3 separate regions of the Homo sapiens genome follow, and all the other regions are linked to region 1. The links are contacts of gene promoters, found by promoter capture Hi-C in blood cells and fetal thymus (Javierre and others, 2016). All regions are on one chromosome and are shown on one strand. The core of a region is centred on a gene start or on the middle of the fragment in contact, and the rest is flanking DNA. Distances in the headings are between cores, read along the strand shown.

Region 1 (4,529 bases), core at 777-3,276:
TTGGGAGGCTGAGATAGGACGATTGCTTAAGCCCAAGAGGTCAAGGTTGCAGTGAGCAGTGATTGCACCACTGCACTCCAGCCTGGGTGGCAGAGCGAGACCCTGTCTCAAAACATAAAATAAAATAAAATAAAATCTTGTTGGGTTACTGGGAACTCACTCAATAAACCTTAGGTGGTAGGTATTATTATTTTCATTCTACAAATGAGAAAACTGAACCAGAAATAGAAAAAGTGATTTTCTAAAGTGACATAGAGCTGGTAAATAGAAGAGGGGCTTGAAACAGGAGTATCTGATTCCAAGTCTGCAGTTCTTATCACAAGACAAAAACAAAAAAACATTGTCACTACCCACAAATAGCTCTCAATTTAGTGGAAGACACAGGTAGATGAAAATATTATTTCAGCATAAGTAGGAAAATATTATAATAAGAAAAATGTATCGCAAGCAGCCATTGGAGCAGAAAGAAGCATTCAAGAAAAGCTACCTGGAAAAGATACCATTTAAGCTGAGTCTTTAGGGGTACCTACACATTTGCAAGGAGAAGGAGAGTAGGGTGCCATGGAAAGAACTCATTTCAGGTAGAGATAGTGGTATAAGCAAAGCCTTAGAGACAGGCAAGAGTCTGGTGTGTGAGTATGTAAATATGAACTGATTGAGATTTATTAGAGCATAAGTTACAAGGCTGAGAGGGTAAAAGTAGAGGCTGCTTGGCCTTTTGTGCCATGATAAAGAATTTGGGCTGGTAAACTTGAGTTTTAGAAATTACTCTGTCTGCAGGGTACAGAATTCATTTCAAGAACACAAGGTTTGGACGAGGAGATTAGTTAGGAATTTACTGGAATAGCCCAAGTCATAGAGGATGAGGGCTTGTCCTAAGACATTAGTGATGATCCAGGCAAGGGACTGCTTCTATGAACAATTTAGAAGGTAAAATTGGCCAAACCTAATGATTGATCAGATTTAGAGAATGAAAAAGAAGGAAGAGTCTGGGTTGTTTCTGAGGTTTATGGCCTTGTAAGGGTAGATGCTGGTGTCATTAGCTGAGATCAGAAAGTGGAAAATGAATTAGATGAGGCAGGGGCCAAAAGGACAGATAAGTTCAACTCTAGTCACATGGTGCAGAGACACTTGTGAGATATGTAGGTAGATATGTCTGGTATGAAGCTTGATATTTGAATGTGAAGCTCAAAAGCATGGTTAGGGTTGGGGATATGATTTGGGACTCTTAAATACAGAGTTATAGTGGCAAAAATTAAACAGACAAATAAGCTCATGAAGGAGATTGTGTAAAGAAAGAGGAGTACAGAGGCAAGGCTATAACTATAGAGAACACTAGTGTTTAAGGGGAAGAGAAGAGAAGCTATTAAGGGATCAAGAGAAGTCCATGTAGTACAAGGAGAAAATGGTGCCATGGAAGCCAGGGTAGTAGAGAATGCAAGAAGGAGTAAGTGATCAACAGAGCCCAGTGCAGCAGAGAAGTCCAGCAGGATATGAACTGAAAAGCATGCCATAACCCAGTCAATATAGAGATCGTTGTGCCCTAGACAAAACCAATTCCAGTGGAAGCCAGGCTGCAAGCATTGAGGAGCGTGTGAGAAGTGAGGAAGTGGAGATAGCAAGTGCAAACTATTCTTTTAAGAAAACTTGTCTCACAAGTGAAAGAAAAGAGTTGAGATTAGAGCTAGAGAGGATATCATGATCAGAGGGGACTTTCAGGATGGAAGATTTTTATATTCAGAAAGTAATTCAATCCTGTACACCAAACTTTCTTATACCTACCCTTCTTATTCCACCTGAATACTGCTTCTTTGGAGGGCCAGAATTAGTCCATGTTTCTTTCCTTCTGGTCCTTTCTCCCAAGGTAAGCAAAGCTCCATTCCCACACCAATATTCAAATATTTTACTTACCCAGTAGCATCTGGGCCACCCAGAGCACACCAAGGGAAAGGTAGAGGGCCCAGGCCATGAGGACACAGCCCAGCTTCATGGTGACTGTGTTTAGGTCTCCTGCAACCCCAACACTGATTTTCTTCAACATGAAACCTCTCAGATTAGAAAAGAGGAAGTAAATTTAACTGTCTCATCTCCTTGCATCTGGGGTCTGTTTTCATTTTCTAGTTTGTAATTGGCTTTCATCATTCAGATTTGGCCAACACGCTTTCAGCATCATCTGCACCCTTAGGGCTATGACAAAATGGTAGCACTCTCAGCTGTTCAAGAATTTACTCACAGAGCTCAGGGGCCTGTCAAAGCATGTCATTGTCTGATAGCCAGCTGGCCTTCATGTACACTCTGGGAAAGGTCAGTGCAACAACCACCCTTTTCACTGGTGATGCAACTGGGGACAGAAGGTGGGATGTTGTTTGAAGGCCAATAGAAAATCACTGGAGAATCAATGATGAGAATTCAAATGTCCTGCCCATTCCAACACTTATATGTTTCTAGTGACTAGAAGGTAGCGAGACAGAGAAGGAAGATTAGTCACGGCACCAAGTTAGATATCAGATTAGTCTCTAGTAGGCTCTGACTATCCAAAGCCCACACAAATTTGCATGCAAATTTCTCTAGACTCGTGTCAGCTCTCTATTTCTGGAGCATGACTAAGTCTGCTCAGTCTCAGTGGAAATATGAGTACAAGGCAGGGAGAATCCACTGGGAAAGAGTAGAGGAAAAAGAAAATCTATTCCCAGAGGATCCAGCAGTCAGCTCAGGGCTTAGGCTCATAGCCAAAGCTCAGGCCACTGATCCTGAGGAAATTAGAGATAGGAGGCATCCGATATCTTGAGAAACCTGAGGAGACTCAGGAATAGGAGCAATATAGAGGCTACAGCCTCTCCCTTCCGTTCCAGATGGCCTCCTGGGAACCATTGTCCCTGCCTCTGAATGTTTGCTATTTGTTTGAGGCCTACTTAATGGTAGGGCCCATGTGTCTTTTCACAGTGGCCACATTCCTCCCCTTTCTGTCATCATAACACCCACCAGGCCTCCAGTAGGTTATTTGGAGATGAAATGAGCCATCAGAAATGGGGTAAGGTAGGCCAGGCACTGTGGCTCATGCCTCTGTAATCCCAGCACTTTGGGAGGCCAGGGTGGGCGGATCACTGGACTGGAGGTCAGGAGTTCAAGACCAGCCTGGCCAGTATGGTGAAACCCCATCTCTACTGAAAAAAAAAAAAAAAAATTAGATGGGCATGGTGGTGCATGGCTGTAGTCCCAGTTACTTCAGAGGCTGAGGCATGAGTATCATTTGAACCCAGGAGGCAGAAGTTGCAGTGAGCCAAGATTGCACCACTGCACTCTAGTGTGGGTGACAGAGCGAGACTCCATCTCACAAAAAAAAAAAAAAAGAGAGAGAGAGAAATGGGGGAAGGTAGTTTGGTCCTCCTTGAAGGCAGAGAGAGGGACAGTATGACCCTTCAACTGTGCAAAAACCACAGGTCAGAGCAGACATATCAACCACACGGGCATAAGAGAGTGGATCTTTCTGAGTCTAAAATAAGCATTTAGAATAAAATTTCCATTATCGAGAGGCATACGCTTCTGTGCAGGTGGCCCCAGGGAGTCCAGGGGTGGTTGAATATGGGTGCTGGGGAAGGCAGTGAGGCAGTAAGCCTTGCAGCTGATGTGATGTGAAGCCTCAGAAGAGGAAGAAAAGCCTAGCTAGCCTTAATAATTTTTTTTTTTTTTTGAGATGGAGTCTCTGTTGCCCAGGCTTGAGTGCAGTAGCGCGATCTCGGCTCACTGCAACCTCTGCCTCCAGGGTTCAAGCCATTCTCCTGCCTCAGCCTCCCGAGTAGCTGAGACTACAGGAGCGTGCCATCACGCCCGGCTAATTTTTTGAATTTTTAGTAGAGATGGGGTTTCACCCTGTTAGCCAGGATGGTCTTGATCTTCTGACCTCGTGATCTGCCCACCTCGGCCTCCCAAAGTGCTGGATTACAGGTGTACGAATTAAACAAATAAAATGTGTTTAGATGCATCGCCACTCCTAAAACTACATAAAACATAGACCCTCAGGGTTAGGCAGAGGCTAAGGGGCTTCTAAACAAATCATGATATCTTTCTCTTCTTATGTCACCCTTTCTCCTTTACTGTCCTTACCATAGCATCTTACCTGGATAGAGACCCTCCCCTATACCATCTGCAGCAATCCTTGCAGGACCCCACTGTCAATATGGAAGGCAAGGGGCCTTCTGAAGATTTGGGGTGAAGCTATCAAGTTCTTTACACTGAAATTTCCATTAAGCTGCTGGGAAAATTTACTCGCTTGAAGCTTAATCAATGAACTATTTAGAATAGATGTGATTCACTGCGAGGAAAAAGCAACATTGGGTCTGCTGTTTGTTCATGGAGACTGAGATTCGGTTTATTGAGTAAGTTCCTCCATCAGGATCACCTCAGAATACTCAGGGGGAGATGGGACAAATCCCAGCTCTCATCCCATCCCAAGACCAATTAGGTGGTGGATGCCCTCCTTTGCCATTCCTGGCTTGTCACTAGTGGACTAATGCTTATCTCTTCTTTAT
Region 2 (4,529 bases), core at 991-3,490, 500 kb after region 1:
ACTCCTGAAGAATAATCCCAGCTAATCCCTAACTTTTATGCCTCAGCTTTCTCAGCTATAAAATGCAGCCAAAGCTAGCTCCATCTAAGACAAGGATAATGTAAAGATAAAAAGAATGCCATAGGCCGGGTGTGGTGGCTCACGCCTATAATCCCAACAATTTTGGAGGCCGAGGCGGGTAGATCACCTGAGGTCAGGAGCTTGAGACCAGCCTGACCAACATGGAGAAATCCCGTCTCTACTAAAAATACATAAATTAGCTGAGCGTGGTGGCTCATGCCTGTAATCCCAGCTACTCAGGAGGCTGAGGCAGGAGAATCACTTGAACCCAGGAGGCGGAGGTTGCAGTGAGCCGAGATTGCACCATTGCATTCCAACCTGGGCAACAAGAGCAAAACTCCGTCTCAAAAAAGAAAAAAATAAGTAAGATTCCATATATGTGAAAGTGTTTTGAGAGCAACCTCGTCTAACACACACAAGAGCTCCCACAGACACTGAGAAGTAGGGTAAAGAAGGAAGTGGCAAAGAGAAGAGTGAGGCAGGGGAAACTAGCTGGAATATCAGCCAAGAAAGGATTGGGGCCTTACCTATCATAGCAGTCCCCTCGAGAACCAACAGGAACATCAAACTCAACCTGGTCGTAAACATCATAGGGCTGGGTCTTCCGCAGGTCCCACTGGATGCCTGAGCCCCGAAGCATCACTCCACTGTGGAGAGCATAATGGGAATAAGGGCCACTCTCCACAAACTAAGTAAGGAGGCTCCTTCTTCCTTAGCCTCCCTTGTTGATCCTTCACATTCAGGGTATGACTAGGAGGATGCCAACAAGTCTTCAAAGACAAGATATTAGGCTGGAACTCCCCCACTCCCACCCCCACTCCTACGGAGAGAAGTTGTATTCCCCTCACCTAAAACCATAGTTAAGTGCTTCTTCTGCTGTTACAACCCCAATGTCAATTGTCCGATTTCGCCAGATCCTATTGTTGGTCAGCAACTATTGATCAAGAAAACTGGTGTGTTAATACTCTTCCTCACACTCTTCAAATATCTCTGTATTTCTCTAGCCCTTCTTGTGGGGGAGAGATTTTTCCCATTGACTCCTAGCTTACCTCCTCCAACTCATCAAGCCGAAGAGAGAAGTTCTTAGAAAACTGATAAATGTCATCCATAAGCCCAAGGGGTAGGTCCTAGAAGCCAAACGGAAGTGCTACTGAATGTGGCATAGCCTTCACTAAGGAGAGCCCTCTCAGCACCCCCTCCCCCAGCGATACAGGTTTGGAGTTTCCATCATCCAGCACTGCCCTCCAGTGGCCACAGGGAAAATAGGCCTGGGCTGGACATTTGGGGAAGCCGGGGACCTGCTCACCTGGTGCACTCCTCCTGGCCGGATATAAGCAGCATGCATTCGGGCTCCAGACACTCGCTCGTAGAACTCAAACATCTTCATAGAACGTGCTGGGAATTAGTGTCAAAGTCCCAGGCCCCCAGGTCCTATGATGGCCTACTCCCCCACTTTCTGCCTTCTTGTGCCCAACCAACCCCTCATGATATAGTTTCTACAAATATAACCCAAGTTAAACATACCTTCCCCCTCTAAATGTTCTCCCATGTTCTCTCTCTTCTTTTAATCTCCTGTCTCCTTTATACCTTCTCTACTTCCTGCACTTCCTTCCCTATTCCTATCCTTTCCTCCCACTCTTACCTTCTCCCTTTCTTCAAACAGCCAGAAGAAAGGGGTCATGGCCCCAAGGTCCAGGGCATGTGTGGTCACAGCCATGATGTGGTTCAACAAACGTGTGATTTCTCCAAACAGCACTGTGAAGACAAGGAGAAGACAGGATATAGGAGCCAAGCACTGAGGCGGACAGAGAGGTCTGGGCAGAGCCTGGGGTCTGAACACTAAGCTTGGGTTCAACGGGGAAGTGGTGGAAAAGGCACTATGCTATGCTCACAGTGGGCCACAGAAAAAGTTGGGGGGACATACCTCGGATCCACTGTGCCCGAGGAGGAGGCCGGATGTTTAGCAACTTCTCCACAGCTAGAGAATAGGCCTGTTCGTTACACATCATGGACACATAGTCTAGCCGGTCAAAGTATGGAAGGGCCTGGGAAGAGGGAGGAATGTGGGTCACATCTAACAGGCTCAGGAGCCCACAGTCTGGCTGCCTGAAGCCTTGCTCTCAGTCGGCACCAGAAGTTGGTGCTGTATAAGCCTTTCTAGTCTCAGGAGCCCCAACAAGGCAGGTAAAAATATCCCAAAAACCAGTAGTATTCTAGTAAATGTTTAAAAACTGGCTCTCCAAAGTGAGGGAGGACTCTGATTTGTCATGTTTGCCAATTTCCATGGTAAAAATACTCCCACAATGGCCAATTTTAAGTTACCAATATCATGTAACTGAATGCAGCATTGGGAAGAATACCACACCATTATACAGTATTTCCACCATACAGACACATTCAAAGCAAATACCTCAAAGGCAGAGCATAGTAAAATGTGGTAAAATAATGAAGTGATGAGCTTTGAATATTTAATCTTACCTTTGCTTTTAATATAATGTATTAAATCATAAGCTTATATAAATTAATTTCTGACAATGGCTATGTTCAACAACTGGCTCACAAAACTCCTGAAAATTTAACAACTGCACTCTTGCAAGCCCGTATGAGCTAGCTCCAGGATACCACTGTCAAGAGTCCTTGGCCGGGCACGTGGCTCACGCCTGTAATCCCAACACTTTGGGAGGCCGAGGCGGGTAGATCACCTGAGGTCAGGAGTTTGAGACCAGCCTGACCAACATGGAGAAACCCCTTCTCTACTAAAAATACAAAATTAGCAGGGCGTGGTGGTGCATGCCTGTAATCCCAGCTACTTGGGAGGCTGAGGCAGGAAAATCACTTGAACCCAGGAAGCAGAGGTTGCAGTGAGACAAGACTATGCCACTGCATTCTAGCCTAGGCAACAAGAGCAAAACTCCATCTCAAAAAATAATAAAAATTTAAAAAACTGACATACTGGTCAGGCGCGGTGGCTCACACCTGTAATCCCAGCACTTTGGGAGGCCAAGTCAGGGTGGCTCATGAGGTCAGGAGTTTGAGACCAGCCTGGCCAACATGGTGAAACCCCATCTCTACTAAAAATATAGAAATTAGCTGGGCGTGGTGGTGAGTACCTGTAATCCCAGCTATTTGGGAGGCTGAGGAACGAGACTCGCTTGAACCTGGGAGGTGGAGTTTGCAGTGAGCCAAGATCACACTATTGCACTCCAGCCTGGGCAACAAGAGTGAAACTCCGTCTCAAAAAAAAAAAAAAAAAAAAAAAAATTAGCCAGGCATGGTGGTGCGTGCCTATAATCCTGGCTACTCTGGGGGCTGAAACAGAATTGCTTAAACTCGGGAGGCAGAGGTTGCAGTGAGCCAAGATCACGCCACTGCACTCCAGCCTGGGCGACAGAGCGAGACTCCGTAGGGAAAAAAACAAAACAAACAAAAAACTTCAGATACTGAAGGAGAAAGGCAATCAGTCTTAAGAGTATCTGGGAGGGTTTTTTTTTTTAATCTTTTTTTTTTTTGAGACACAGTCTTGCTCTGTTGCCCAGGCGCTGGAGTGCAGTAGCACCATCTTGGCTCACTGCAACCTCTGCCTCCCAGGTTCAAGTGATTCTCCTACAGGCGCACACCACCACGTCTGGCTAATTTTTGTATTTTTAGTAGAGATGGGGTTTCACCTTGTTGGCCAGGCTGGTCTCAAACTCCTGACCTCAAGTAATCCACCTGCTTCGACCTCCCAAAGTGCTGGGATTACAGGCGTGAGCCCGGCCAGAGTGAGGTATTTAAGGAAGACAGAGCATCAGGTAGAAATGGTCCTTCCTCCAGAATGCCAAAAAGCCAAGTCCTAGCTGTCTGCTGAACCAGCTTCAGCTTCCAGGAAGAGGGTGGAGCTAAGACGCTACTAGCTGGGACAGCCTGTTCTTATTCTGATGTCACTGTGACGGGGGCTAATGCTACAGGGGTTAACCCATAGACTCCAGGACCAGAAACTGTCATCGCCGAGGCTCTCTTGGGGAATCACATTCTAGTCACTGTTCACCCCGACACTGGGCTGGATCTAAATCCTAATCCTACCATCCTGTTATCAGGACCTTTCTTCATGACAGTAAGAAAAAAACTTCAGATTCCTATTAGAGATCCAACTCCTTCAAATCTGACCTTCATCATTTGGGTTATACAGTTCTCCTAAAAATGGCAAACTGTCATAAACCCTCTCTGAGTTGCTGTGACTCATTGAATGTTTTGAAAACAAACGTAGACAGCTGGAAGATACAAGAATCAGCTGTTAAACTTAGCGAGCTAATGTCTTTTCTCTTTCCCTGCCCCTAGGGACACTGGCTTTGACGCACTAGTCTAACGTAAGAGCAGGGAAACTGAGGCACTCAAGTAATGGCAAAGGGGCCTGCCAAAAAGTCAGCCAGAGAAAAGCTGAGTATAGCTCCAGCTTCAAAGCACTGCTGCTAAATAAACCAAATCCTAAT
Region 3 (4,529 bases), core at 718-3,217, 310 kb after region 1:
TTTTCTCGTGGGTCAGAGACACAGTGGTGAGCCTCTGACTTTTCAGAGTCATTTGTGGAAAACCTGCCACCGCCTGGTTTCCGTAGTGTAGTGGTTATCACGTTCGCCTCACACGCGAAAGGTCCCCGGTTCGAAACCGGGCGGAAACAAAGTGGTTCCCGTTTTTGTTTTTTTCCTTCCCCATATCCTTTCGAATTCTACGTAAGAATTCGCCCAGATCGCAGTGAGATCCCGGAACTCTAGGTCCGAGGAGAGTTGGAAGGACTGAAGGGCAGACCCCAGCAGCCGAGCGGCTCTCGACAACGGGCTCGGAGCCGGCGGCGCCCCTGGCGGCTGTGGGCGACTGGGTCCCTCCGGAGCCGTGAGACCTTTTGATATCATCAGGCACCGTGTCGCGGTTCCGCCCTGTCAGTTTTTGTGTCTTTTCTGACACCCAGAAGGAACTTCGGACACACTGGGAACCGGAAATGGCTGCTCAGTGAATGAAGTCGTCACTTCCGACCCGGACCCCTGAGGAGCAAGTTGTAGTTCAGGGCCTAGTCCTGAACGGCCGGTCCTTTTTTCAGACCCTGCTCAGGCTCTGGCTCTGGCTCCGGCTCCGGCCTCTTCGGCCGAGACTGCGATGGGTCGGTTTCCTCCACATAGTTTACAAACCTGTATACAGATCCAAGAGTGCGCTGGTGATTATCTCGCTTTGCGCTGATTGCCGGTATCATTAACTCAGTAGTCCAGAGGAACGAAACGAACGTGGTGACGGAGCGGGGATCACAACTCGCTCTGCTCTGTCACCCCCCCAAACTTGTCTTTACTGTGTTTATTTTCTCATTTGTCACCATCCAGTTCTCAGTCACGAAAATGTTAGTTCTTTCTCTTTCCTTTCAAGATTTTTAGGTTCTAAATCAGGTGGAAAGAATGTACATTTTTAATTAAAAGATTTTCACAATTCTCCTAAAAGGAGGACAAACAATTTGAACAGACACTTGATTAAAAAAAAGATATATGGGGCTGGGCGCGGTGGCTCACGCCTGTAATCCCAGCACTTTGGGAGGCTGAGGTGGGTGGATCACGAGGTCAGGGTGTTCCAGACCAGCCTGACCAAGATGGTGAAACCCCGTCTCCACTAAAAATATAAAAATTAGCTGGGCGTGGTGGCGGGTGCCTGTAATCCCAGCTATTCAGGAGGCTGAGGCAGGAGAATTGCTTGAACCAGGGAGGCGGAGGTTGCAGTGAGCTGAGATCGCGCCACTGCACTCCAGCCTGGGCTACAGAGCGAGACTCCATCTCAAAAAAAAAAAAAAGATATGTGGATTGCAAATAATCACATGGAAAGATGTCCAACGTCATTAATCATTAGGGAAACGCAAATTTAAAACACAATGAGATACCACTACACACATATCAGAATGTCTAAAATTTAAAAGACTGACCATACCAAGTTGGCAAGGATGTGGAGAAACCGGAACACTCATTCACTGCTGTTGGGAATGTAAAATGGTACATTCACTTTGGAAAACAGTTTGGGGGTTTTTAAAAGCGTTAAACTACTACAATATGACTCAGCCATTCCACTCCTAGGTATTTACCAAGAGTAAATAGAGCATATGCCCATACAAACGCCTGTACACAAACATTCATAGCAGCTCTATTTGTAATAGCCCCAAACTGTAGACTATCCAAATGTCAATCAACAAGTGAAAGACCGATCCATACAATGGAATGTTACTCAGCCAAAAAAAGGACGGAACTGCTCACATATACAACAACATGAATCTCAAGTATGCTGAGTAAAAAAAGCCACTGCACCCAGCCTCCATTACAGCATTTTGAATTTAAAATAAAACATTTTTTGGCCAGGCGCGGTGTTTCACGCCTTTAATCCCAGCACTCTGGGAGGCTGAGGTGAGCGGATCGCTTGAGCCCAGGAATTTGAGACCAGCCTGGCCAACATGGCGAAACCCCGTCTCTACTAAAACTATAACAATTACCCGGGCGTGGTGGCCTGCGCCTGTAATCCCAGCTACTCCGGAGGCTGAGGCTTGAGACTCGCTTGAGCCTGAGAGGCGAAGGTTGTAGTGAGCGGAGATCCAGACTGGGCAACAGAGAGAATCTGTCTCAAAAAAAAAAAAAAAGTAGGCCCTATGAACTGTGCCTAACGTGTAAATCAGACCCGAATTGCGGTGATAATTTCCCAGGTGTATACACGTGTCAAAACTTGTACATTTTAAGTATGTTCAGTTTATTGTATGTCAGCTAAGCCTTAACATAGCTATGATTGTAGCAGGACAAGCCACAGACAAGAACCCCTCAGACACCGAGTTGTAGAAAGGGCTTTTTTCAGCTGGGAGCATCGGTGGACTCACGTCTCCAAAAACCGAGCTCCCCAAGTGAGCAATTCCTATCCTTTTTAAGGGCTTACAGCTCTAAGGGGGTCCGTGTGAGAGGGTCGTGATAGATTGAGAAAGCAGGGGGTACGTGACTGGGGGCTGCATGCACCGGTAATCAGAACGGAATAGAACTGGACAGGGATTTTCACGATGCTTTTCCATACAATGTCTGAAATCTATAGATAACACAAGCAGTTAGGTCAGGGGCTGATGTTTAACTACCAGGCGCAGGCGCAGAGCTGGGCTATCTGCCTGTGGATTCCATTTCTGCCTTTTAGTTTTTACTTCTTCTTTCTGTGGAGGTAGAAATTGGGCATAAGACAATATAAGGGGTGGTCTCCTCCCTTATTATAATTTCTTAGTATTTCCCAGAAAAAATAAAAAAGCCCAAATATTTGAAGGCTGTTTGGACTATTCATATAAAATACATGTCGACCATCCCAAATCTGAAAATCTGAAATCCAAAATATTCCAAAATCCTAACCTTTTTGGGTGCTGACAGGATGATCAAAGGAAATGCTCATTGGAGCACTTTGGATTACAGATTTTCAGATTTGAGATACTCAACTAGGGTGGGTATAATGCAAATATTCCAAAATCTGAAAAAAATCAAAATTTGAAACAATTCTGGTCCCAAGTATTTTAGATAAAGGATACTCAACCTGTACTTTTTTTTTTTTTTTTTTTTTGAGACAGAGTTTCGCTCTTGTCATCCAGGCTGGAGTGCAATGGCGTGATCTCGGCTCACTGCAACCTTGCTTCCCGAGTTCAAGCAATTCTCCTGCCTCAGCGTCCCAAGTACCTGGGATTACAGGCGCCCACCACCACACCCGGCTAATTTTTGTATTTTTAGTAAAGATGGGGTTTCGCCATGTTGGCCAGGCTGGTCTCAAACTACTGACCTCAGGAGATCCACCCGCCTCGGCCTCCCAAAGTGCTGGGGATTACAGGCGTGAGCCACCGCACCTGGCCAACCTGTACATATTTTTAAGGCTTTTTTTTTCTTTTTTTTAGACAGGGTCTTGCTTTGTCACCCAGGCTGCAGTGGCTAAATAATTTCTTTCTACCTCCTGTATCAGGACTACAGGCATGCACCAACAGGGCCTGCTCTCTCTGTCTCTCTTTCTCTCTCTCTCTCTCTCTCTCTATATATATATATATATATACTTTTTTTTTTTTTTTTTTGGTTTGGATATGGAGTCTTGCTCTGTCACCCAGGCTGGAGTACCATTGATCTCGGCTCACTGCAACCTCTGCCTCCTAGGATTACAGGTGCCCACCACCTCGCCTGGCTATTTTTTGCATTTTTAGTAGAGACGAGGTTTTGCCATGTTGGCCAGGCTGGTCTCAAACTTCTGACCTCAGGTGATCAACCCACCTTGGCCTCCCAAAGTGCTAGGATTACAGGCGTGAGCCACCACACCCGGCCGGGCCTGCTAATGTATAATTTTTAAAAATTAAAAATTAATTTAAACAGCTAAAGTTTAATTTTTAAACTTTTTTTGGTAGAAAGTGAGTCTCACTAAATTGCCTAGCTGGCCTTGAACTCTTGGCCTTAAGAGATCCTCAGGCTTTGACCTCCCAAAGTGCTGAGATTATAAGCATGAACCACCACACCCAGCCTTAAATTTTTCTTTAATCAAAAATTTTGTATGGCCAGGTGCAGTGGCTCATGCCTGTAATCCCAGCACTTTGGGAGGCCAAGGTGGGCTGATCACCTGAGGTCAGGAGTTCAAGACCAGCCTGGTCCAACATAGTGAAACCCTGTTTCTACTAAAAACACAAAAATTAGCAGGGGATGGTGTTGGGCAGCTGTAATCCGAGCTACTCAGCAGGCTGAGGCAGGAGAATCGCTTGAACCTGGGAGGCAGAGGTTGCAGTGAGCTGTGATCGTGCCACTGCACTGCAGCCTAGGTGACAGACCGAGACTCTGTCTCAAAAAAAAAAATTTTTTTTTTGTATGGATAGGTGTGGTGGTTTATTCCTGTAATTCTAGCACTTTGGGAGGCTGAGGCAAGAGGATGGCTTGAGCCCAGGCGGTCTGATCACTTGAGCCCAGGAGTTCAAGACTAGCCTGGGCAACATGGCAAAACCCAGGCTCTACCAAAAACAGAAAAATTATCCAGATGTGGTGGCTCATACCTG

The links. Contacts are between HindIII fragments. The CHiCAGO score rates a contact against its expected background, and 5 or more counts as called.
Region 2: a contact is called between a fragment that was not itself captured here and the fragment with the promoter of FCRLA in region 1, in 1 of 17 cell types (naive B cells). The highest score is 5.7, in naive B cells.
Region 3: a fragment that was not itself captured here is called in contact with the fragment with the promoter of FCRLA in region 1 in 1 of 17 cell types (total B cells); the score reaches 5.7 in total B cells.

What each region holds. Positions count from the first base shown.
Region 1 is chr1:161,704,726-161,709,254 of GRCh38, reverse strand. It overlaps FCRLA (Fc receptor like A), which reads right to left and starts at 2,026. Exons shown (of 5, transcript NM_032738.4): 1 at 1,912-2,026. The coding sequence starts at 1,990. RefSeq lists enhancers at 1,551-1,730, 3,271-3,490. The HindIII fragment of the contact is 3,109 bases long and covers 1,170-4,278 here.
Region 2 is chr1:161,206,769-161,211,297 of GRCh38, reverse strand. NDUFS2 (NADH:ubiquinone oxidoreductase core subunit S2) reads right to left here. Exons shown (of 14, transcript NM_001377299.1): 4 at 1,985-2,105; 5 at 1,703-1,815; 6 at 1,367-1,441; 7 at 1,110-1,187; 8 at 909-994; 9 at 588-707. Among named protein-coding and RNA genes, the nearest start is that of FCER1G, 6.3 kb to the left of the region's middle. The HindIII fragment of the contact is 667 bases long and covers 1,907-2,573 here.
Region 3 is chr1:161,395,320-161,399,848 of GRCh38, reverse strand. It overlaps TRV-CAC1-1 (tRNA-Val (anticodon CAC) 1-1), which reads left to right and starts at 77; the gene lies at 77-149. RefSeq lists a silencer at 104-183 and enhancers at 1-516, 524-663. The HindIII fragment of the contact is 5,595 bases long and covers 1-4,529 here.